Regions from separate parts of the Homo sapiens genome. Here regions 1, 2, 3, 4, 5 and 7 are each linked to region 6. Evidence: promoter capture Hi-C in 16 types of primary human blood cells and fetal thymus (Javierre and others, 2016). All regions are on one chromosome and are shown on one strand. Each heading gives the region's core, a stretch centred on a gene start or on the middle of the fragment in contact. The rest is flanking DNA. Distances are from core to core; before and after follow the strand shown.

Region 1 (3,107 bases), core at 576-3,075, 1.7 Mb before region 6:
ACAGATTTCAGAAAATTGAAAGGAGCAATCTTTTCTTCAAAATATACCACACATGCAAGCTGCTGTTCAGAATGATGTTCCTGATTCATACTTATAATTCTTTGACTTTTGTGGTAGATTATAAGAAACTTTTATGCCTACTCTTCTGAAACTTCTAAATATTTTATTTAATCAATTGGCTTTCTTCAAGGAATATAACAAGCTTAGTTGATTTGTAGGAGAAAAAAAAATGGGTTTAGAGATCCCTCCACATGCTGACTCCATTCTTCAAACTAAGGGCAAGGTTATGGTCTCCTTGCCCTTACTTTTAACAAAATTGGAAGTAATTAGCTATTTTGAAGAACAACTGTATCCTAGACACTTTGATGGCCTGCCACACTCAAAGTTCCCTTCCAGGCAATTTGGCCACACACAATGCCTCATAAATTTCTAAGTGTTGTATCTTAAGACTCTACACACTCAGCCACTTAGACAAGGGATCAGCAACTGTGTCAAGGACAATCATCTACAGGGCAGACAAGGAAAACTAGCAGCTGCACCTTATAAGATGACTTAGACAGGAACTCTGTCCAAGGACGCTCTATGTTGGCCAGTGACTACTCAACCCACTGGGTTCTCTCTCAAGGAGTTTAAATGGGAGACCCACAGAGAGGGACAAGGAGAGTAGATCAGTGCAAATATTATTTGTAAGCACAGCTATGAGGTAATCAAAGGGAGGTCAGCAGTAACAGTGATAGAAACATCAGTAGTAGATATTTAAAGAGAGAAGATGGGTCACAGCCATGAATTCTACAAATAACATTCCACTTATCCAAGGAGTAGATGGGGGGTTTCTGGGCTCTCACACTTGCCAAGAATCCACATAGCAAACCCTCATCACAAAATATAATCTGATGTGATTCTGTTCCTTGCAACCCAAAAAAGCCTATATAGTACAATCTTATATTTAGATATGGTTCAGACCATCTTTAGCTACAGGACATCAGTTTCTCCTGATGTTTTACTTAATATGCAGCATAAACATTTTTTAATGAAGAGTATCTGTTTCTATATAAGGTTTATTAAAGCTTAGGAAACCCATTCTTGCAACCTAAGATCTGAATATGTATAATTTCAAAATGAATGAAATTATCCCTACAAAGTAACTTATTAAGTAAGACCTTAGAGAAATTAAGTCAACCTAGACCTGAATTTGAACACTGTCTTAGATTCCACACTACCTATATAGTAATAATTTACAGTACACGAAAGGCAAATAATGCTGAATCTTACTCCTTACTGGAAGGAGAAGGAGGAAAATAATAGAAAGCTGGCAAATATTTGGATTGACATACAAAGCTCAATCACATACACTCATCTCAAGTTCACTTAGCTGACAACCTCAAATTGTCAGGCTCTACATGGCAAAAGCAAGGAAGCTACCAAAGATGACTGAAGCCATGTCAAAAGGATTTAGAAGCCAATTTGAAAGGGCTTCCACTGACCAAATAAGAGATAATTTAAGCACATACAAGGGACAGAGAAACTGGCTAAACAATACCAAGAGGATTCAATCAGCCAAACCTAGAATGTTGTTAATTCTACAGAGCAACAATGAAATTCTTCAGTATATTAAAAGGAATAAAGAGAGGGGAACTTATAGATAAAAAGAGACAAAAGAGACATAGCAAATACAATGTGTGGACCCTGTTTGGATCACTCTTTGAACAAGCCAACTGTAAAGAAAAAGAGGGAGGGAGGGAGGGAGGCAGGGAGGGAGGGAGGGAGGAAGGAAAGAAGGAAGGAAAGAAGCAAGAAAGCAATTGAAAAAATATGAATACTGACTGTAGCTGGAATTACTTACTACACTTTTCAATATGGTAATGAACTTATGGTTATATTAAGGAAAAAATAGACTTCTTATCTTTCAGAGATAAAAATAATTAGGAAATAGTGAAGAACCAGAAATTAAACAAAAATGTCTTATACATAATCAATATAGAGATCTTGATGTCCATGGATTTACTCACAAGGACAGTTTTCATGTCTTCAACAGTTATTTACCTTTATTTTATACACAATTTTATCACCAGGATAATCTGGCTTTCCAGAGCAATTTAAAAGAAAGCATCTGAAGATAAAGTTGGAGGCTTGTAGGGACAGATACCCTGCCAATTGTGACTTGTCATCTGAGAACAAGAAAAGAGGCTATAAAATCTATTCAAGGCAGACATAAGATCTCAAAACACCTAGCAGTTTAGAGGTCCTTAATGAATCCACAAACAGTCCTACAAACTTAAAAAACAAAAGAGGGCATTATTCTAGGTGACAAAGGTTGCCCCCCAAAATATCCATCCTGTTCCTTCACCTTAATAAGAAAATGCCATTTTTAGCTGGGTACATTGCCATCTAGAATAAAAGACAAAATGTCCAAGTCTCCCTTACAGCAAAATGTCCAAGTCTCCCTTACAGCTACATGTCTGAGTTCTGGACAGTGAGGTGAAGTGACAGAAGTACTGGGATGATCTTTGGGCAAGACTGATGAAAGAGAGTTGACTTGGGGGACAACCTGCTCGGGTCCCCTTCCATTCTGTGGAAGCTTTGTTCTTTCGCTCTTTGCAATAAATCTTGCTGCTGCTTAAAAAAAAAAAAAAAAAAAAAAGACAGACAGTTGACTTGGTTTAGAAGGGCCCCTTTTTAGCCTCTCCTCCTTCTGGCCTGTACCCCAGAACAGAAGCAAGGAGACATTCTATCAGGGAAGGCCTTGTAGGCCACTGGAAGACTTCAGATCTTCCTCTGTAAGAGCTAGGAAGCAAGTGGCAAATTTTGAATTGAGGAGTGACATGACTGTACATTTTAAAAAGATTATTCTCACTGTCCTGTGCAGAACAGACTGTAGGGGGCAGAGGTAAAAAGCACAGAGACATTTAGAAGACTGGTGCATCAGTACAGGTGACAGATGACGATGGCTTGGACCAAGATGATAAAAGTAGCAATGGCAAGAAGAGGACAGTTTGTAGATATGAGATGGAGCTGACCTATACCTACTAGGAGGATGTAGAATGACTCCAGGGTTTCTGACCTGAGCAACTGCAATCAAATTGCTACTAACTAAATTGGAAAGCATT
Region 2 (3,353 bases), core at 319-2,818, 1.6 Mb before region 6:
AAAAATTAGCCGGGTATGGTGGTGGGCGCCTGTAATCCCAGCTACTCGGGGAGGGGGCTGAGGCAGAGAATTGCTTGAACCCGGGAGGCGGAGATTGCAGTGAGCTGAAATCGCGCCACTGCACTGCAGCCTGGGCGACAGAGTGAGACTCCGTCTCAAAAAAAAAAGAAAAAGAAAAGGAGAGAGAGAGAGAGAAGGTCAAGTGCCGCATTTAACCATGATCTTAGGATGGGCTCCCTGCATGCTCAGAGCCCTCTTTACCCTTGGGAAGTGAGCACACACAGTGATTTTATGGATTTATACACATGCCCATCTGAGGCTTTCTTCCTTTTTCCGGTGGAGTGTATCAGAAAAATCATACTTCATCACTTTTGTCTCTTAACCGGCATGCCCAGGAAGTTGCTTCTCTCTGGGGCCTGCATTCAATTAACATTTTGATGTTAACAGGTGTGGGCCATCAGGAAATGGCCTTTCCCTGGCGCTGCCAAATTTTCATTTTTAGAGAGGCCATGTGATAATTGCTGAACCATCACCCAACATTTCTAGTGGGTGGGTGGCAGGGGAGAGCCCTCTCCTGCCTTGCTCATGCCTAACTACCTGTAACAGATTCAGTTCGCCATTTTATAATGTATGAGCATGATCTGTGGTCCCCCAAAACAATTACAGTAGTGACATCAAAGATCAGTGATCACACAGATCACTCTAACAGATACAAAAATAATGAAAAAGTTTGAAATATTGTGGGAATTACCAAAATATGTCAGAGACACAAAGTGAGCACATGATGTTGGAAAAACATGGCACCCATACACTTGCTCCATCAAGGTTGCCTCAAACCTTCCATTTGTAGTAAACTCAGTATCTGCAAAGCACAATAAAATGCACAATAAAACAAGGTATGCCTCTCTATGCTCTCACAAACCTCTGTATTTTATCTTAGAAACACTCACAACTGTAATAAATGATTGTTTATTCTTTCTTTCCAGTTAATCTCTAGCTCTGATCCTCACCCGCAAAGAACTGGGCCACCTTCCCTGCTTTATCCCCACTATGCCTAAACACACAGTGAGTGTTCCATAAACACTTGTTTAGTGGCAATAAATATAGCAGACACATTTATTTGCCACTTTATAAGGAAAAAAGGTGCAGATACATAGACGACCTATTTTCTGATACCAAATTAGGAAGAGTTCTCCATCTTTGGCCAAGTTTTTTTTTTTCTAAACAGCTTTACTGAAGTATAATCGTTTTTTACCTTATTTAAAAATAAGTACCACTCCACTAAAACGCGCTCTGTGGTTAGTTCTCGGCTGGACCGTTCAAAAGGCTGATCCTTACAGCCTTTATTATTAATACAACCAGGTCGGGACTGCTTTTGCGTGGGTCACCAGAAGTAAAAAATCAAAGAGGAGCCAACCCCATTCCGAACAAGGAAACACCCGTCCCCTTCCTACACCAATTCCTGCTCCGCCCTTCGTAGGGAACGCAGCGAGGGCAGCCTCCGGAGTGGAGGGGCGGGACTTCCGGCCCTTCCTGTTGTGGAGGGGCGGGACTTCCTGTCTTCCCTGTTGCGGAGCTCTGAAGCGGCTCCCTGAGGGCGCTGGTTTTGAACTGGTCTTGTGCGGTTTGCGCTTTCTCTTAGTGGTTACAGTTGGCGCTGTCTCCGCTTTCCTGTTTCGTGGCGGGCATCTTGGCCAAAACACTCTCCCTGCCACCTTATTCCTCTAGGGTTGTGATTTTTTTCTTTCACCAAGAAATATCACTCGCTGGTAATTTGTCAAACTGAAGAAACCCCTGAAGAAGCAGTGGTGGGCAGGCGCCGACGCTGCGGCTTCCAGAGCATTTTGGCAAATCAAAGCCAGGGACCGTTGCTGGGCCTCATTTCCGCAACTTTTCGGCTCCGAACTGCTGTGAGTGGAAGACTTTTGGTGGTTGTTTTGATCAGGCTCCTTCTGTAACTAGAGACTATAGCATTTTGAAAGAAATGAGATTCTCATTCATGTCAAGAACAGACTTGTGGATTTTTGAGTGTTAAACATACCCTGACGTAATGTGCTGGGTGATGAGAACGCAAGCGGGAATGAGACTGTAGAGATGAGAATGGCAGTGTGGGTTGGAGCCGGGTTATGGTTTCCTATGGTATGCCAAGAACCTTAGTCATTACACTGTTTGTTGTGTATGCTTGATTATTTAAAATTAGAAAACCGCCTCAGTAAAGCTATTAAAAAAAAGACCTGACCAAAGATAGACTATTTTTCCCAAATTGGAATCAGAAAATGTCTTCCATCTATGTATCAGCACCCGTTTTTTCCCCTAAAATACCAAGTAGACATACCCGATATATACGTGTGTGTTTATATATATATCTGTAATCTATATTGCCATTTGATAAGTACGTAAACAGGTGATGTAAAGCACTTGGTATGGTGTGACTTGTGGAAAGTTACCTATGTCATCAATACTAGAGATGGATTGGAGAGAGAAGAAATTCCAGACAGTTGCAGGAGTTGGAGAGTCTATGGCCTGAAAAAGAGAAAGAGGTAGAGAGAGTCAGGTTCCAAAGACAGAAAATCAACAGGACTTGTTACAGGGGCATGGAGTGGAAAGTCAAGTTTTAGAATATTGGCTGCTAACAATGAGACACCATTAATTCAAATTGCAAATTCAAGAGGAGCAGTTTACTTATTTTTCATCATTCAAATATTTATTGTGCCATTTACTATTTGCCTAATACTGTTTTAGATGCCAGAGATACTGTTACATATAAGACAGATAAGGCCCCTGCTTCGGTTGACTTTATATCCTAGTGGGAGAAAATAAAAAGCAAGTAAATAATCAATTTTGATGATAGATTCTATGAAGAAAAAACTTGAAGAGGGATGACAAATGATTGGGAGATGTTTGGGAGTAACTTTAACTTAGTTGGTCGTTGGGCCCTTGTAGGAGTTACATTTGTGCTGAAACCTTGATGATGATAAAGAACCAGCCTTGTGATTAGCCAAGGAAAAGACAAGGCAGGCAGAAAGAACTGCAAAGATGGGAAAGAGCTTGTTTAAAGAACATTTAAAATGCCAATGTATCTAAAGTGCCCTGTAGAAGTAGGAGAGAGTTGAGAAATGACATTGGGAGAGGTAGATAGGACCAGACTGTGTGGCCTTTGTAGGCCATAGTTTAGGAGTTTGGATTTTAAGTAGAAATGGAAGGTACTGGTGGGTTTTAAGCCACGAAGTGATAGATGTGATTTTCATTTTAAAAGATCCCTCTGGGCACTACTGTATGCAGACTGGATTTGAGGGAAGAGATGAGAGTGAAAGTGCAATTAGGGGGTATTACAGAAGCCTGCTTTTGGTAGG
Region 3 (3,134 bases), core at 20-2,519, 1.4 Mb before region 6:
TGGTGGGTGACAATTAATAAAAATGCAGATTGGTTAAACGACATCTATTACAACCAACAGTGATGTATTAACTACACTAGAGATGCTGTTAAAGGAATAGCTGAGCAATTAGGGGCTATTAGCCAGATGGCTTGGGAAAATAGGATAGCCTTAGACATGATATTAGCAGAAAGAAGATGAGTTTGCGTTATGATTAAAACTCAATGTTGCACCTTCATCCCAAACAACGCCACCCCTAATGGAAGTATAACAAAGGCATTGTGAGGTCTGACTGCTCTATCCAATGAGTTAGCCAGCAACTCACGGGTAAATGATCCCTTTACAGGATGGCTAGAAAAGTGGTTCGGTAAATGGAAAGGAATAATAGCCCCAATTCTTACCTCCCTCATAGTCATAATAGGTGTACTTATTCTTGTCAGGTGCTGTGTCATACCATGCATCTGTGGGTTGGTGCAGAGGCTCATAGAAACGGTACTTACTAAAACCTCCCTTAACTATCCTCCACCTCATCCAGAAAAGCTTCTTCTTTTGGAAAATCAAGCAGAACAACTAAATCAAGACATGTTAAATAAGTTTGAAGAGAAAGCTGTAAGAAAAATGCAAGAGGAGGAAGTTGTTAAATATGAATTCTAAATTTCTCTTCAAAGAATTAATATGTCAGTATGTTCCATTCTTTGCCTTCTACTTTTAAACGTAGCTTCCTAGTAAAGCAACCTTTTCTGATTACCTACTCCAACCTGACTCATTCTCCACCTTGACTCATTCTGATTACGTACTCCACCTTGACTCATTCCAATTCATTCTTCACCCTGACTCATTTCATAACCATTTTTCCCGCCATCACTGTCTTTAAATTAGTCCATCGGAATTAGTTTAGCCTGTGCAGTCTAACCCTAGCCAATAAGGGAACGACACAGCAGTGGGGACCACGTGCGTCAGGAATAAGAACCCCTTTCCCTCCCTCGTCCAAGTGTGCACTCACCATTGCTCCATCTGTAAGGGTGCACCCTTCTATAGAAGTACCTTGCCTTGCTGAGAATTAAAAAGAAAATTTTATATTCGACTGCTATTTCTTTTGCAGCATGGAAACTTTATTTATAACAAGATCTTCTGTATCTAATTACTAACCCTTTTTGTTCTCCATTGCTTGGCTTCCCAGTAATCAATAATCATGCTCACTTTGCTTAATTGAAGATTAACGTGATCAAAAAGACGGTCTGTTCCTTGTAGAAATTTCCGGTTGTGTAAGATGGTCATTCTCATGACCGTCTGGCTAATCATTTCCCATTATGTACTCCTGGAGTTGGAATTATTTGCGATTCCTAACGACAAAACTGTATCTTCTTTCTTGTGTTTGTCCTTACTGCCTTTCAGCATATTCCAATATGCCAAGAATTTTAATCTCCTACCCCACCCCAAATTGCTGTTGATCATAATCAGGCAATGTCTCTCTCTCTGTTTACTATCTAGTTACTTTACATACATATGAAGTGAGTCATGGGCAATACTGTGGAATGGAAATCATTACTGAGTGGTCCTCTTCCCCCAAGTCATTTATGCCACCACTTCACAGTGGTTCCATTTCCAATATATTTTGCCACTTTGCTGCTGAGAATGTGTCTTACTAGGTTAGCATCTATAGTGGTTAAAAGAATCTCCCATAACAATAATTGTGTGAATCACAGAATTACCAATGACCCCTTATCAATAGCATTCCTGTTAATTAAATTGAGATGGGGAGAGATACAAACAACTCCGAACCTCACTCATGGTCCCCCACCAAAGCTAAGTATTATGGCTTCTCTCTCTGACCAGATAGAGGCAGAGTTTATTGCAAAGCCACAAGTGTCCTCCTTTGGATTCCCCCAAATAGTGTTTCAGTGAATTCCTCTAGCTTGAATTGCTCCTCTCTATTTGCTGGGGGAGTTAGGCAGTCCGTATCCGATGGATTTACTATGCCGACAATTACGTGGCCTTTCCACAGCCTTTTACTTGGCAGGTACCACATATGAAGCTTAGAAGATACAGTGGGCAACAGGCCAAATGGAGTCCCTTTCCTCAGAGTGCATGGCCTGGCAAAAATCCTTGAATTCAGTATCAACTTCCCTTCACAGGCAAGGCTCTGCACCCTCCCCACGGATGCCTAATCCTGAAACCATTTTGTTTTAGGTTTAGTTAGAAAGCTTTGTCTCAAGAGCACTTTTGTTTGTTCTGTTTTCTTTAAGTCAAGGTAGTTTTGAATAAAGGAGACAATATTTGAGTATTTACAAATCGGGTATTTAGACTATTTACACATATACAAGTTCTGGGTGAAGTATTCTGCTCCAATTTGCAATCTACGCACACTTTGCTAGAAAACGTTAAGACTGAATTCAAATCAAGTACAGTATTTCAGAAATCTTTCAGGTGAAGCCTAGTTCTGGTTGCTAGGCAACCTGACAGACTCCCAAGCTGGGACCACCTCGCCTCCCACATTTGACCATCTCTCCAGCGGTGGGACGCGGAGTACCCATTGGCCCGCATCTCCTCTCACTTAGTCCCAATTGGTCGGAGAACCTCTCACTCCGCTCCCGTTGGCTCTCGCCGTATCTCGCAGCTCCGTCATTGGCAACTGGGCTCTCGTGCCACCTCACGTCAGTCTCTCACACCACTTCCTCGGCCCTGAGACTTTGTCCCCGCCTCTTCTCCCCGCCCTTCCAGCCACGAGGGAAAATCCTAGCGAGTCATCGCCTCTAGTTTCCTTTTGATTGGTAGAAGCCGGACTGGGGGGCGGGCGCTGCCGGGCAACTCTACCGGCCGCGATTGGCTGTGGGAGCCACCGTCCCGCCTCCCAGCGACTCTCGGCGGTGCCGGAGTCGGGTGGGTTGGCGGCTATAAAGCTGGTGGCGAAGGGGAGGCGCCGCGGACTGTCCTTTCGTGGCTCACTCCCTTTCCTCTGCTGCCGCTCGGTCACGCTTGGTGAGTGTCCCGCGCTGGGGAGTAGAACTGGGCTGCGGAGGTGCCGCGGGCGGGGTGTGGGCCAGACAGAGGCGGTGTCCTTGACTAGGCCCGAAGGAGCTGGGGCTCTGGGTCAGGACGTAGGCGTGGACTTTGCCCGGGAGGATGGGGCACCGTGAGCGGGGCCGGGCGGGGGT
Region 4 (3,626 bases), core at 380-2,879, 1.6 Mb before region 6:
TGAAATGTGTTATAGACATACTGATTTGCTGTGGAGGTTGGATATGGTCAGCTGTGTTAACAATTAACTAATCCTCTAGCCAATTTGAAATAAGATTTGCAACCACAAATAACTGAAATTCTGTATATTTCTATAAAGTGGATAAAATTACGCAATGATTATCTTAAAATGGGGAAGAGTCTTCAGCTTTTTATGAATTTTTTTTCTTTTGGTTTATCTAATTTATTACAGTAAATCTTGTGATAGTCTTCACATTTTAGTGATTTCACTTGAGAATATTCACAAAATAATAGCTTTTTGTTACCTCTTGAATGTATTTTTCTGTTGGGTTTTATTGTGTTTCAGTCTAAGTGCTCATTCATTGCTATTAATGATTTGCCTCAAAAAAGATAGTTTCTTTAGCAAACATTTCTATTGATTCAGCCAATCATTTCAGATCATTCATTTTATTAAACTTGATACTTGTTTTAGATATGTAGTAAGTTACATATAATTACACATATGCATACAAGCATATGTGTATATGCATTAGCAGGTGTTTTTTGGTTTAAATTTTAGTAAGCAAATGCTCAGTCAGTCTTATTTTGTGTGAATATTTTTTGATAAAACTTAAACGCATTTTACTTTGAAAAACTAAAAGAATTAGAACATTTAAAATTGAACTTTAAATGAAATCCAAATATCGCCTTTATTTTGATTCTTAAATGTCACTTGTATTAATCACAAATATAAGTAAATCATTTTATTCTTGATGAATAATGGAAAAAATTTGGCTTTTCTATGACCAGTGAAAAATATTTTGAGAATTGCCCAGTAAATGCTTCACTTTAACATTTTTTCTTTATCCTTTTTTCCCAAATTGTCTTATTTTTACATTTGTTTATAATTTTATAATGTATTCAAGTTCATTTTTCAAGTATTTCTTTTAATGTATTCACTTTAGATATGTGACAACAGTAACATCATGGTGCAGGAGACTGACCCAGACTAGTCCCAGAGAGATGCCCACTCATTCGTCATCTTCTGTTCTCCAAGAAAATTGGTATTTTTCTTTTAAACTTAAATCTGTTTAGAAGAGCTAATACTTTAAAAAAAATTAAAATGTCAAATGGTAAACTGAGACTTTTTTCCCCAAAAAAACTTTCTTAGTTTTGAATATGTTTAACTCCTAAAGTATTTTTGATAGCTTAAGCTTGAAAATAATTTCTAATCAGACATCTAATTTATTACATTTCATCATATTCTATTTTACCTAAAGGTAAGAAAACCTTGCATTGAAAACTTAACATGAAAATGAGTGGCTCTTTTTATGTGACAAATTCATCCTGAAAACTTTATGGAAAAATTTAAAGGGGATTCTTAAATTTTTAGTAATGTTGAAGGAAATAAAAGGTTTAATAACATAAGCTTTCAGAAAACATTGATTTTTAAATAATTTCTGTCATATTAGTTACTTCTCCCAAATTAACTGGCAGATCAAATAAAGCAAGTATTTTAGTCCCTCCTGTGTGCTTTTCAGTGTGCAGGGTACTAGAACTGGGCTTCAAGGGAACTTTCTGTGAAAATATAAGACATTTTAGGGAGGAAATAAGGGCAGAAGTAAAAAGGATATTTTAGCCTGTGGAGATAGAAGATAGTTTTTATGGAACATATGCTATCTATTAGTATATAGTATGAGTTTTGAGGGCTAGGAATGGATCTTATAATAAATAGGAGTTCAGACCTGATGGAATTAGAAAGTCCTAAATGGAAAAATGATAGGAAGAAAGGTCATTAGAAGATTAGTGTCACTGAGAGTCTAACCTGAATATATGGGAAGACAGGGATACCAGGAACAATTTGGGAAGCTTTTTAAGTAAGTTTTGTGAGGTGACCTAACATAGTGTAGTGAAACAAAATGTAAACATTAAGCCAATTTTTGTTACCTTTTCCTAAGCCCTTTCTTAGAACAAATCAAATCATATCAGTAAGCGTTATTTGAATATCTCAGGTAGCTTAAGGATCCAGCTTTGCAGATCCCTCATCCTTTAGCTGTAGCCTGTTTGGAAGCAGAAAAGTTGCTAAAGTAACTAGCAAAAAACAATTGTGATGGAAGGAAAATTGTACTTGTCTATAAAACCATCACTTCACCATTGCTTAGCTGGCAGTTTGTAAAATATCATCAGCCTTTTTATTTGAAAGCTGAGAAGAGGCTGTCAATACACACTAAAAACTGCAAGTAGAGATTGGTGATAGTAGCTAAAGGTGAAAGCAACTAGGAACAGCAGAGGCAAGATAAAGAAATTGAGGAGTAGCTCCATTCCCCCTATAAAGCCTTAGGTATCTCCACTTCGGTTTTTCTTATCAAAGAGGGTAGGTTGAAGGAAGAAACAAGATTGTACAATAAAAAGCTACCTAAGTTGTATTCTAGTATTTTTTTTCCGCCACACCCTCCATTATTAGCTTATTAATTCAACTTTTTAGTCAACAAATAGTACGTTTCATAAAAAGTTCGTTCATTATGAGAGCAATAACAATAAAGGTTGTATTGTTTCTTACATCCAGAAAAATGCGTTGGGTTTAAAAAAAAAAAGATATTTTGCAATAATGAACAATCAGCTGGTTGTTGGGGTAAGTTGTATCCAAGTTCTTTGCCACAGGTGTTTAAAATTATGAAATATTTCTTTTCATTCTCCATCCATAGGCTGGAGTACAAGGGAAAGAGTACAAGCTGACAGGGAGGTGCATGTGATCTGTTGTAGTAAAGCCAATAAAGCAGACAAGTCACACAACCTACTACGAACTGTGAAGATTTTTCTGGTGACTTGAATATTTTAGACTAATGTCTTCATTAATTTTGCAGAGAGCTAGTCAAGTTACAGTTTGTAGTTGTATGCCATTGCTCATATTTCATTCTAACTTGATAAGAAAAAGGATAAAGAACACACACTTAGGGGTTCTGCTGGAGACGTATATATTAGCCCTCTACTCCATACCAGTTGTCCCACTATCTTTCTATAGAACATGGTATAAGAGCTAATGTTCATCATGTTAACCCTCTGTGCTTAAAAAAACAATGAAATAAGTAGGTAGTCTATTCCAGAAAGAATTTAATAAAAAATAGTTGTTTTGACACGTAATTCAACTATTTAAAAACTTGGATCTCCCATACCATCCATTCCCAAAGAGTTCCATATAAATGAGGTCTTAATATATGCACAAGTACAGAAAAGTAAAAAATCCTTTCTTCTGAGAGAAACAATCTAGGTAGGAAGAGCAGGAAGTTAAATAGTTCAAGAGAAGATATTACAAATAAGTATGTGATTAATTAATATGCTATAGGAATTCAAGGAAGGAGAGAGCAGTTCTTTCACAGAAGGAATGGGATTTTAATAGGTTTGTAAAGTTTGCGTAAACTTTAGGGAGGAAAGTAGAGTGTAAGCTAGGTTAGTACTAAGAAGTAACAGGAAGGCCCATTATCCTCAAACATCAATATTTGATTACAAATTCCTTGAAGTGGATTTACAAGGGGTAGACTTTTATTCACTTACCTTTAAAGGCACTCAGTAAGTATCAGTTGAGTCAAGTTGATTTGTTGCTAAATAAAGGTAACATAAAGAGAATTCTTCTGCGTTCTTCCGTTTAAA
Region 5 (3,103 bases), core at 315-2,814, 1.5 Mb before region 6:
TTGCTAATAAAACAGGTTGCAGTGAAGAAGCCGGCTAAATCCTACCAAAACCAAAATGGCCACAAGGGTAACCTCTGGTCGCCCTCACTACTACACTCCCATCAGCGCCATGACAGTTTACAAATGCCATGGCAACGTCAGAAAGTTACCCGATTTGGTCTCAAAAGGGGAGGCATGGGCTGGACGCAGTGGTTCACGCCTGTAATCCCAGCACTTTGGGAGGCAGAGGCGGGCGGATCACGAGGTCAGGAGATCGAGACCATCCTGGCTAACACGGTGAAACCCCGTCTCTACTAAAAATACAAAAATTAGCCGGGTGTGGTGGCGGGCGTCTGTAGTACCAGCTACTGGGGAGGCTGAGGCAGGAGAATGGCGTGAACCTGGGAGGCGGAGCTTGCAGTGAGCAGAGATCTCGCCACTGCACTCCAGTCTGGGCAACAGAGCGATACAGAGCGATACTCCGTCTCAAAAAAAAAAAAAAAAAAAAAAAAGGCGGGGGGTAAGGCATGAATAGTCCACTCCTTGTTTAGCATATCATCAAGAAATAACCATAAAAATGGGCAACCAGCCACCCTCAGGGCTGCTCTATGAAGTAGCCATTCTTTTATTCCTTTGCTTTCTTAATAAACTTGCTTTCACTTTGCACTGCGGACTGGCCCTAAATTCTTTCTTGCACGAGATCCAAGAACTCTCTCTTGGCGTCTGGATGGGGACCCCTTTCCTGTAACGCAATGGCAGGATCAAAGCCTCCAACTCCTGGGTTCAAGTGATCCCCCTGCCTTAGCCTCCCAAGTAGGTGGGCCACAACGCCTGGCTAATCTTTTAAATTTTTTGTAGAGACAGGGTCTCACTATGTTGCCCAGGCTGGTCCTGAACTCCTGGCCTCAAGCAATCCTCCCACCTCAGTCTCCCAAAGTACTGGGATTATAGGTATGAGCCACCACACCTGGCTCAAACTTTTAAACTATTACTTTGCACAGGAACCTTCACTTCAAACACTAAGAATTTAAAAAAGGAGCCATGACTGCAAATACAGTGAGATAAAGCTATGACACTTTGTGAGAATAAAGTAGAAATTGTGGATAAAATGAACAATTTCTTGGAAAAATAATAAATATATAAATATATATGTAAATATATATATATTATATATACAAGTAAGCCAATAACAAATCCAACTTAAACATCTTTCCTCAGACACCAGGCCTAGATAGTTTTTTAAGTTTTACCAAAAATTGGAGGAACAGAAAATCTTTATCTTATACAAACTCTTTCAAAGGATGGAAGAACAGAGAAAACTACCTAATGCATTGTTGAGATTAACATACCCTTAATACCCAAAACATGGAAGGATGGTAACAGGGTATAAAAGTATAGATTAATTTATGAACAGAGGTGCAAAAATCTTAATAAATAGCATATCTTATACAATATATAAAAATTAATATATTATGAATAAGTATGGTTTATCCCAGGAGGGCAAGGAAGAAAATAGATTAATCCACCGCAGCAATTTAAAACTTTCAATGGGCTAGGTACTGTTCTAGGCATTTAGCAAAGTAACAGATTTTAAAAGAGAAAAATCCTTTATTTCCTACACAGGAATTGAGAAGAAAGAGATGAAAATGACGATTTACCTGTAAAACTGGAGTATCTACTCCAAACTATTAAAAATAAAAAAATTCAGCAAGGTTGCTGGATACAAGAGCAACATTAAATAATCAATAGAATTCTTATACATAAAAATTAACTAATTAGAAAAAAGTATTTTTAAAGAGTTCATTCACAATACAACAAAATATATAAGGTACCTAAATATAGATCTAAGATATACGACATTATCTTATCATTTTCTTCATAAAGATCTTGGAGGACCAAGAAAATCTGAATAGATAGAGAGATAATTCCATATTTATGAATGGGAAGACAATATATTTCAGATCTTAGTTGTAAACTTAGTGCAATTCCAACCACAATTCCTGAAATTCTTAAAGAACTAAGCAAACTGATTCTAAAATTTATCTAAAAGGTAAAGGATCAAGAACAGCCAAGACAATTTTGAAGAATAAATTGAGTGGGAAGACTTATTGTATCAAGTTTTGAGATTTATTAAAAAGTGTCTTAGTTGAAACATGTGGAATTGATGCAGAGATCAATAAGTAGAGCATGAGACAGAAGAAAAAGCCCAGAAGCAGACCTATGTGTATGTGTAAACTTGAAGATTTAAGGAGTGTCTGCATATCAGTGAGATGGGGTGGTTCTGTTATGGAAAGAACAATCCTGCCAATGAAAGATTCCTCTGTACCAATACAGAAGAGAAAAAAAAGTATTACTGAGTAAGCATTAACACATTTACAAGCATGTACGGCAGCACAAAAGTGACTATGAAATTGGAACAGAATTTTATATAGCATAGCAGAAGAAAGAATAACTTCTCACCTCCTCAAAAGATAAAAGGGTCACACCTTGTGACAGTTTCTACACGTCTTGTGAGAGACCCTGAGCTAAATCCAGAGGTGTTTTTAAAAATACATCTGGAGGTTATTTGGCCCTTGGCCTTGGATATATATAGCTATTATTACAAAAACTGAAGAGTGGGCTTAATCCTTGTAGAGATTTATCTCAATCCAAAAGTAAAGATTAAGATACACTATGTCTTTAAAGAACCTCATCTTAAGAATGGAGGAAAGGAGGCCGGGCGCGGTGGCTCACGCCTGTAATCCCAGCACTTTGGGAGGCTGAGGTGGGTGGATCATTTGAGGTCAGAAGTTCAAGACCAACCTGGCCAACATGGTGAAACCTCACCTCTACTAAAAATACAAAAATTAGCTGGGCATGGTGGCTGGCACCTGTGGTCCCAGCTACTTGGGAGGCTGAGGCAGGAGAATCGCTTGAACCCAGGAGGTGGAGGTTGCAGTGAGCCGAGATTGTGCCACTGCCCTCCAGCCTGGGCAACAGAGTGATACTCTGCCTCAGAAAAAAAGAAAAGAAAAAAAAAAACGGAAGAAAGGGATGGGTGTGGTGGTAGCTCATGCCTGTAATCCCAACATTTGGGGAGGCCAAGGTGGGCGGATCCCTTGAGTCCAGGACTTGGAGACCAGCC
Region 6 (3,202 bases), core at 448-2,947:
TAGTCTAACTTGGTATCTTACTCCTTAACTGATTTTGACTAAAATTATAATATTTACAGGAAAAAAAAAAGTTCAGAGTTAAAAGAATACCATGAAAGGGCAAATGATTTTATGGACAAACTTTGAACTGCATCTTCACTGTTCATTACCTTACTGTATTTGCTAAGGAAGCTAAGATCTCATTTAATTTTTGTGTGCTTTGCTTTGGTTCAAAACTAACATCACATTCTCAGAACTTGGTCAGGCCTTAATCAAATAAAATGCTATTGAGCTTCCACTTGGTCTTTCCACTCTGCTAAGTGCAAAGACAGTTCTGGAGAAATCAGTCGTGGCTCATGTCCTCAAGGAGTTGGTCAAAAGACAAGGCTTGGCGAATATGTACGTGCCATGTCAATGAACTGCTACAATGGAATAAACTTATAATAATGCCTAACATTTATTGACTCCTCATAATAAGGCCATAAACTTTGCATGAATTAACTCATAGAAACGTTATGACGTTGTATCACAAGCAATCCTAATTTGCAGATGAGGACACTGAGGCTTAGGGAAGTTATCTAACTTGCCTAAGGTTAAAGCAATATACTGCTTTTATGGTTGCATCTTTAGTAATCTCTGGGGTTGCTGGGACTCCAGTGCGAGAAAGAGCCCGAAATTCGCAAACTTGGATGATGGGGAAGAAAAGGTGTGCTAAACTCAGGTCACAGAGGTCCAGTCTTAATCTTGTTCCTCTGCAAGCCTTGTTGCTCACACCTCTTGACCGACAGTTCGAGGCAAGTGCTCACAGCAAACTTACTCTATGTAAGCCAAGGCCAGATGTGGGGAGAAGGGGCTGAGAAATGTTAGAAACGTGAACGCAGTCCAGGCGGGAGAAGAGAAGGGGGCCTCGAGGGGTGCCCCTATGCAGCCCACACACACGCCAGGCACTAACTTGGAAAAGCAACAAGCTTGGCGGGAGATCCTCCCGCGGCCGGAGGGCCCTGAACCCTAGGCCAAGACTCATCCACAACCTAGGGGGAGGCGGCCACCAGCGCCCCATCGAAGCTAAAGGGCTGACAGAAGGGCTGTAGCGGCAAGTGTGCGCCAACACAGCTGCACACGCCCAGACACCTGAGGCGCTGAGAGGAACTTCCCCGCGATCCGCCCCGGCTGCACAGAGCCTCTTCTCCCCGCCGGGGCCCCGCCCAGCCTCACTTCTTTTAAAAGCAGCAGCCAGCAGCGCGCCGGTGGCGTGCGGCTCGAAAGGCCGGGAGGACGTCATCGACGCGCTGTCGAGCCTCCAGCCCGCCCGGGTTTCCTTCGCAGTCGCGCACCGACGCTCAAACGCGCGCTCCAACCCGCAGCCTCCTCCTGCCTCACCGCCCGAAGATGGCGGCTCTCAAACTCCTCTCCTCCGGGCTTCGGCTCTGCGCCTCTGCCCGCGGATCTGGGGCAACCTGGTACAAGGTAAAGTGCGGGGGAAGAGGAAGGCCATGGGCAGGAAGAACGTGGACCAAACCCTGAGTGGTGCCCGCGTTTTCTTCTCTGCCCCTACCCGCTCTCTCCAGCCTGGGATCTGGCATCCGTGGCGCGGTGCCCTGGTCACGGACACGCGGCGACGCGTTCCTGGCCTCGCCGGCCCCTCGGATGACCGCCTTTGCTTGGTTCTGCAGTCGCTTCCCTGATGGAGCGAGACGCGATAAAGAAGCGCGCGGAGAGGCTGAGAAGGGGCGGGAGGACTCCTGGCAGCGCTCCCGAGCCCTTTGGCGCTCGTCGGCTTCCCTCCTGGCACCCGCCCTTGGATAGGGACTCTGAGGGTCTGAACGGGGGGAGGAGGGCGCCAGTATATGGAGGTTTAGGAGTGAGGCAACAGCGGGTAGGTTTGCGCCCCCGATGTTGGATCTCTGGGCAGAGGAACCTCTAGAGGCCCAGAACCTGAGGCTGGGTTAGCCATGGCTCTGCTCGAGTTCACCGGGGCTGGATGCCGGGTGCGGCGGGTGTGGAATGCCGCTCCCATCCTCTCCTCCCTATTTGGCTCTGCTGCCCCGTAGACTGGAGCGCTCGCCAGGGCGTCTTGCCGGCCAAGCTGGGAAACCATCCGAGGTGTGTCCCTGGCCCGCGCCTGGGCTGCAGGGGAGGACAAACCTTTCTCTCGAGGCCCCTCGTATCCGGGTTAGGGGCTTTCGGTTTTCAGAGCCCTTTGAAATCCTTTTTGTGCCCCACTGCCGACTCTCCACCGAGTGGTATCCGGAGGCATTCCCACCGTGGACTGACTTGTGGTTTTGCCTTATGCACTGTCCTCGCTTGTAAGCCCACCCCTGTCTGGAGCCCTAGGAGCGAATTACAGGACCAGAGCGCCAGGTCCAGGAGGGTGGCTTTATCCCCGCCGTCTCAATCGCGGGAGCCTCTTCCTTGGTATTCAGTAATAGGTCTGAGCTTGACAGCGTGCCATGCACACGGTGCTTACTCCTGAAGCGTGCCTGCCTGGCCCCATTGCTCTTTCCTGCATCCAATCCCTGACCGCTGAGAACACAGAGGAGCCACTGAGCTCCTTCGGTAGGTGCTAGGGAATGGTTCAGAACTGGACCATTTTACTCTTAAATGCCTCTTAGGAAGCATTTTTATAACTGCAGATAGACTTGGATATATAAAGCATTATTAAAAGGGAACTTGACCTTCAGTGAGATTGCAGCGGTGCTGAAGCTAATACAAACCAGAGCACAGCGATACCCTTGGGCCGAGGTCAGGAACGTTCCTTCTTTTGACAGTTACTGATTTGCCCAACTGTAATTTACTCACTTCAAGTCTTTTCCATCTTGAGTATATCATTAAACCATTTCCGAAGCTCAGCAAACCTCATCTTAGAGGGACGAGATGCAAATAAGGGGTTCTGCTATATCTCATTAAAAGTTCATACAGAGTTCAAACTTAGCCCTGTCAGGCTTGATTATCATAGGTCTAACTCCTGCCTTCCACTATTCCCCTAGCTTGTGGCTCTTAGTGCCCTTATTGTTTTTTTTTTTTTGAGACGGAGTCTCGCTCTGTCGCCCAGGCTGGAGTGCAGTGGCGGGATCTCGGCTCACTGCAAGCTCCGCCTCCCGGGTTCACGCCATTCTCCTGCCTCAGCCTCCCAAGTAGCTGGGACTACAGGCGCCCGCCACTACGCCCGGCTAATTTTTTGTATTTTTAGTAGAGACGGGGTTTCACCGTTTTAGCTGGGATG
Region 7 (3,556 bases), core at 42-2,541, 1.7 Mb before region 6:
TCGGGGTCCCGGGAGGAAGTAAAAATCGCCTCCCCTCAGCAGCCCTCTAAAGCGAGACCCTAGCGAGTAACCACCTCTTTTCCACCGACCCCTTTAAAACGACAGAGAGGAAAAAAGCTCGCAAGCACTCATTTGAGAGGCAGGTATGCCCATAACGGAGTCACAGCAAGTCTATTGTTCCTTTTTGTAGGCTGTCTGTACACATTCCGGCGATAACCATAAATTTCATGATGGTTCCTGTTTAACTCTTAAAAACAGACGCTTTTCAGATGGTTTTTCAGTATATAGCAAGTTGCTGTACAAAGGAAAGAATGCATCTGACGCCCCGTTTTTTTTTCTTTTGCAGAGCAAACGAGGCCCCTGAGAGCTCCACCTAGTTCACAGGATAAAATCCCACAGCAGAACTCGGAGTCAGCAATGGCTAAGCCCCAGGTGGTTGTAGCTCCTGTATTAATGTCTAAGCTGTCTGTGAATGCCCCTGAATTTTACCCTTCAGGTTATTCTTCCAGTTACACAGTAAGTACACCCTTTTTCCTACAACTCTGGGTTAATTTACTGGAATAATGTGGTTGTTACTTTGTTAATCAGAGTATGTTTGTGCTTTCTGTACTACACGTAAAAAAATTTTTTTATTGTGAATGTTTTGAATTATTGAACTCAGAAGGAAACAAAGCTGATTCAGAAATACATTTTGTAGTTATATTCAAGGTATTAGAATGTAAGCTTGAGATACACATCTGTGTTCTTGTTTCTAGTGATTATTCCATTATGTTAAAATAGACATAGTTTTGATCCTAATTATTGTATGCAGAAATGTCCTACGGGGTTGTGATAAAGTATTTACATAGGTATAAAGAATGTTTAAACTTTCAGTTTTTCTTTGTCACTTATATAACAACTTTAAAAAATAGTCACTTTTCTTAAATAGCCGTACAAAGCACAGTTGGAATATGTAGAAAGGAATTTGTTGTACTGGATAAACCCAGATGAGTAAATGCATAGGGATTAATTATAGAGAAGTGGGAGGGAATCATTGGAGAAATGATTGATGATACTTTAGCTTAAATCCTGTCTTTCCTATCTTCTTAGTTTTATTGAAGTATAGCAGAGAATAGTGTACTTAAGTGTTAGCTCAGTCTCATAAAGTGAACACTCAACTAACCAGCATCCCAGTCAGGAAATAGAACATTATCAACATCCCGAAAACCCACTCTGTCTCCTTCCAGTTGTTCTTGATGTCCAAGTATAGCACTGTTTTGACTTCATAGGATAGTTTTGCCTGTGTTCAAAGTTTATATAAATAAAGTCATATAGAATATATTCTTTCTCACTTTCAATATCAAGATTACTCCATATTGTAGCATATAATTGGAGGTGACTTATTTTTATAACATTCCATTGCATGAATATATCCCATTTGTCTGTTGATGAACGTTGGTAGCTTTCACTCTTGGGTTATTATGAATAGGGCACATTTTGTGTCTTGCTGGCTGTATGCCTTTATTTCTTTTTGGTATATTACCAAGGTATGGAGTTGCTGGGACTTAGGGTAGCCAGCTTTAGCAGAGACTGCCAAGTAGTTTTCCAGAGATTGTTCCACTGTACATTCTGAGTAGTGTATGATTTCCAGTTACTCTGCTTCCTGGTCGGCACTTGGTATTTTCTGTTTAACCATTCTGGTGGGCATATAGTATCTAGTTGTGGTTTTAATTTATATTTCCCTTATAACTGATAATGACACACCTTTTTTATTACCTCTTTTTGGCTCTCCTTCCATATTTGACAGTAAAAGTATGGAAAAAGCTGTGTTCCATGTTTTAGATACTCCATGATTCTTATGCTGTATAGGAAAAAGCTTTGGGATTGGAAAGAAAAAGATACAGGCATAGCAGGAAAAGCAATTGATATGGGGTGAAAAAGGCCATCTATCGTGTAAGGTAGAAATGAGAGCATCTTGAGTTCTTGCCAGAAAATTGTATTTAGCTCACAGAGGAAAAGAACCATTAGAGCCACTGTAAGAGGTTGAATAAACTCTTAAGGATGCTTGTTCTAGCAGCTACAAGCAGGTTCCCATTTATTTTCTTCCCTATTGACTTGGGCTGTTTTATGATGGAGGGATACAGGGGTGTGTTTGTGTATGTAATAATCGTGTATCAACTATTTTTACGTGGTTCAAGTGACTTTGGGGCTGTCGAGCAGTATATAAAGTCATGTTAGTCCACCTACTTTGAGCCACTGCATCTTTTAGGCATTCCTTGCCATCCTCTAATAGATCAGCACCTCCTGTGCTCAATTTACCAAAACAGATTGCAGCCTGGCACCTGGAAACCTGTGTGGCCTGCAGGTGTCTTCTCTAGCCCTGAATGGGTTTGTTTTTTCTTTAAGTTGTTTTATTTAATTAACCAATACCTAAATTAGATATTAGAAACTTGAATGTTCTGGTTTGTCATAAAATCTGGCCTTAGTGGACTGGCATTTTGATACAGCAAAAATTGGTTGGAGCTGAGTAGAGGCATTCTCTTTAGATGGAGTCTGTGAGCTCTAATTTGCTTTCTGGCTTATTTCATTCATTTGTAATCTACCTGAATTCTACAGGCATTCAGGCTTACTACCCCTGTTCTGGTATATTCTCTAGCCTTACTGGTTTACCCTAATCTTTACCCATAGTTAAGGCTAAGAGAGTTTTTCTCAATCCAATTAGTCATAGAACAGCAGGATCCTTTTTTCCCCCGACTCTTAGGATAAGCTCTTGTTGCAAAGGAAACATTTCCTTTTAGTAGCCATAATCCAAAGTTAGCTACATTCACTCATTCAACAAATAGTCAAGTACTTATCATGAGTCAAGCACCGGTGATACAGCAACAAACAAAATGGACAGAAATTCCTGTCTTCATGGAGTCTCTATTCTAGTAGTCTCCTGGCTCAGTTTGCAGACATTTATTGAATCTGCTTTTGTTCTACACATGAAAATCTATTTCCTGGTATCCTTTTTCTAACAGCCTTTATGGTAGTCTTCTGCTGTGCTTTCTTAACTCTTTCAAGGCACCAAGCCCTTTTATCTTCAGTTCTTCCTCTAATCCTGCTGCTAGAATTTCCTACTTTCCATGTCTTCTTACCAGTGAGTTGCTATATCCATTTATCCCTGGCCATTATTTCTTCTCAGACAAACCATTATGCCTTGAATATTTGTCACAGTTCACTTACCAGAGCCAAAAATTTAACATAGGAATTCATAAAGCATTGATGAAGAGACAGAAGTCCCCTTCCTCCCCTGCAAAAAAACGAGCTTTTTTTCTAAGAGAATCCCTCTTCAAGTTACTTCCCAGTTTTTGTTCTGCCTTGCAGTAGTATCATTCTCCAATAGGTAAAATTATTCACTGTCTCTCACTGTTCAGACCTCTGCAGTCTGATCTCCCTAATTGTATTGATACTATTTTTGTGACTGATGTTCTTCCGATTTTTAAATTTATCTTCCTAAATCTCATTTTAAAACTTTGAGCACTGTAGGATCTATTCAGTTTATAAATCCCCATGTGCCAGGTCCTGTGCTAGGTGC

The links. Contacts are between HindIII fragments. The CHiCAGO score rates a contact against its expected background, and 5 or more counts as called.
Region 1: a fragment that was not itself captured here is called in contact with the fragment with the promoter of OXCT1-AS1 in region 6 in 1 of 17 cell types (non-activated CD4 T cells); the score reaches 5.3 in non-activated CD4 T cells.
Region 2: the fragment with the promoter of C5orf34 here is called in contact with the fragment with the promoter of OXCT1-AS1 in region 6 in 6 of 17 cell types (non-activated CD4 T cells, fetal thymus, neutrophils and 3 more); the score reaches 11.9 in non-activated CD4 T cells.
Region 3: a fragment that was not itself captured here is called in contact with the fragment with the promoter of OXCT1-AS1 in region 6 in 4 of 17 cell types (non-activated CD4 T cells, naive CD4 T cells, naive CD8 T cells and 1 more); the score reaches 10.2 in non-activated CD4 T cells.
Region 4: a fragment that was not itself captured here is called in contact with the fragment with the promoter of OXCT1-AS1 in region 6 in 1 of 17 cell types (non-activated CD4 T cells); the score reaches 5.1 in non-activated CD4 T cells.
Region 5: a contact is called between a fragment that was not itself captured here and the fragment with the promoter of OXCT1-AS1 in region 6, in 1 of 17 cell types (non-activated CD4 T cells). The highest score is 6.3, in non-activated CD4 T cells.
Region 7: a contact is called between a fragment that was not itself captured here and the fragment with the promoter of OXCT1-AS1 in region 6, in 2 of 17 cell types (non-activated CD4 T cells and naive CD4 T cells). The highest score is 9.1, in non-activated CD4 T cells.

Annotation. Positions count from the first base shown.
Region 1 is chr5:43,609,736-43,612,842 of GRCh38, reverse strand. The region is part of intron 2 of NNT (nicotinamide nucleotide transhydrogenase); the gene reads right to left. Among named protein-coding and RNA genes, the nearest start is that of NNT-AS1, 8.1 kb to the right of the region's middle. The HindIII fragment of the contact is 1,511 bases long and covers 1,070-2,580 here.
Region 2 is chr5:43,513,363-43,516,715 of GRCh38, reverse strand. C5orf34 (chromosome 5 open reading frame 34) reads left to right here and starts at 1,568. Exons shown (of 13, transcript NM_198566.4): 1 at 1,568-1,910. LOC124900190 (a long non-coding RNA gene) reads right to left here. Exons shown (of 3, transcript XR_007058764.1): 2 at 1-2,523. RefSeq lists an enhancer at 1,801-1,960. The HindIII fragment of the contact is 8,167 bases long and covers 1-3,353 here.
Region 3 is chr5:43,313,180-43,316,313 of GRCh38, reverse strand. HMGCS1 (3-hydroxy-3-methylglutaryl-CoA synthase 1) reads left to right here and starts at 2,902. Exons shown (of 11, transcript NM_001098272.3): 1 at 2,902-2,958. RefSeq lists enhancers at 181-1,380, 1,475-1,989, 1,990-2,506, 2,513-2,742, 2,993-3,132. The HindIII fragment of the contact is 1,495 bases long and covers 522-2,016 here.
Region 4 is chr5:43,488,047-43,491,672 of GRCh38, reverse strand. C5orf34 (chromosome 5 open reading frame 34) reads left to right here. Exons shown (of 13, transcript NM_198566.4): 11 at 944-1,042. It overlaps C5orf34-AS1 (C5orf34 antisense RNA 1), which reads right to left. Exons shown (of 3, transcript XR_007058763.1): 2 at 3,531-3,626. Among named protein-coding and RNA genes, the nearest start is that of C5orf34-AS1, 5.9 kb to the right of the region's middle. RefSeq lists an enhancer at 2,691-2,860. The HindIII fragment of the contact is 440 bases long and covers 1,410-1,849 here.
Region 5 is chr5:43,393,244-43,396,346 of GRCh38, reverse strand. The region is part of intron 1 of CCL28 (C-C motif chemokine ligand 28); the gene reads left to right. Among named protein-coding and RNA genes, the nearest start is that of CCL28, 18 kb to the left of the region's middle. The HindIII fragment of the contact is 3,529 bases long and covers 1-3,103 here.
Region 6 is chr5:41,868,525-41,871,726 of GRCh38, reverse strand. It overlaps OXCT1-AS1 (OXCT1 antisense RNA 1), which reads right to left and starts at 1,697. Exons shown (of 3, transcript NR_046635.1): 1 at 1,535-1,697; 2 at 1,345-1,436; 3 at 1-961. OXCT1 (3-oxoacid CoA-transferase 1) reads left to right here and starts at 1,302. Exons shown (of 17, transcript NM_000436.4): 1 at 1,302-1,446. The coding sequence starts at 1,369. LOC102723752 (a long non-coding RNA gene) reads right to left here. Exons shown (of 3, transcript XR_925956.4): 1 at 2,125-3,202. RefSeq lists enhancers at 706-755, 1,586-1,665. The HindIII fragment of the contact is 3,584 bases long and covers 950-3,202 here.
Region 7 is chr5:43,552,790-43,556,345 of GRCh38, reverse strand. PAIP1 (poly(A) binding protein interacting protein 1) reads left to right here. Exons shown (of 11, transcript NM_006451.5): 2 at 347-516. Among named protein-coding and RNA genes, the nearest start is that of PAIP1, 2.5 kb to the left of the region's middle. The HindIII fragment of the contact is 1,132 bases long and covers 726-1,857 here.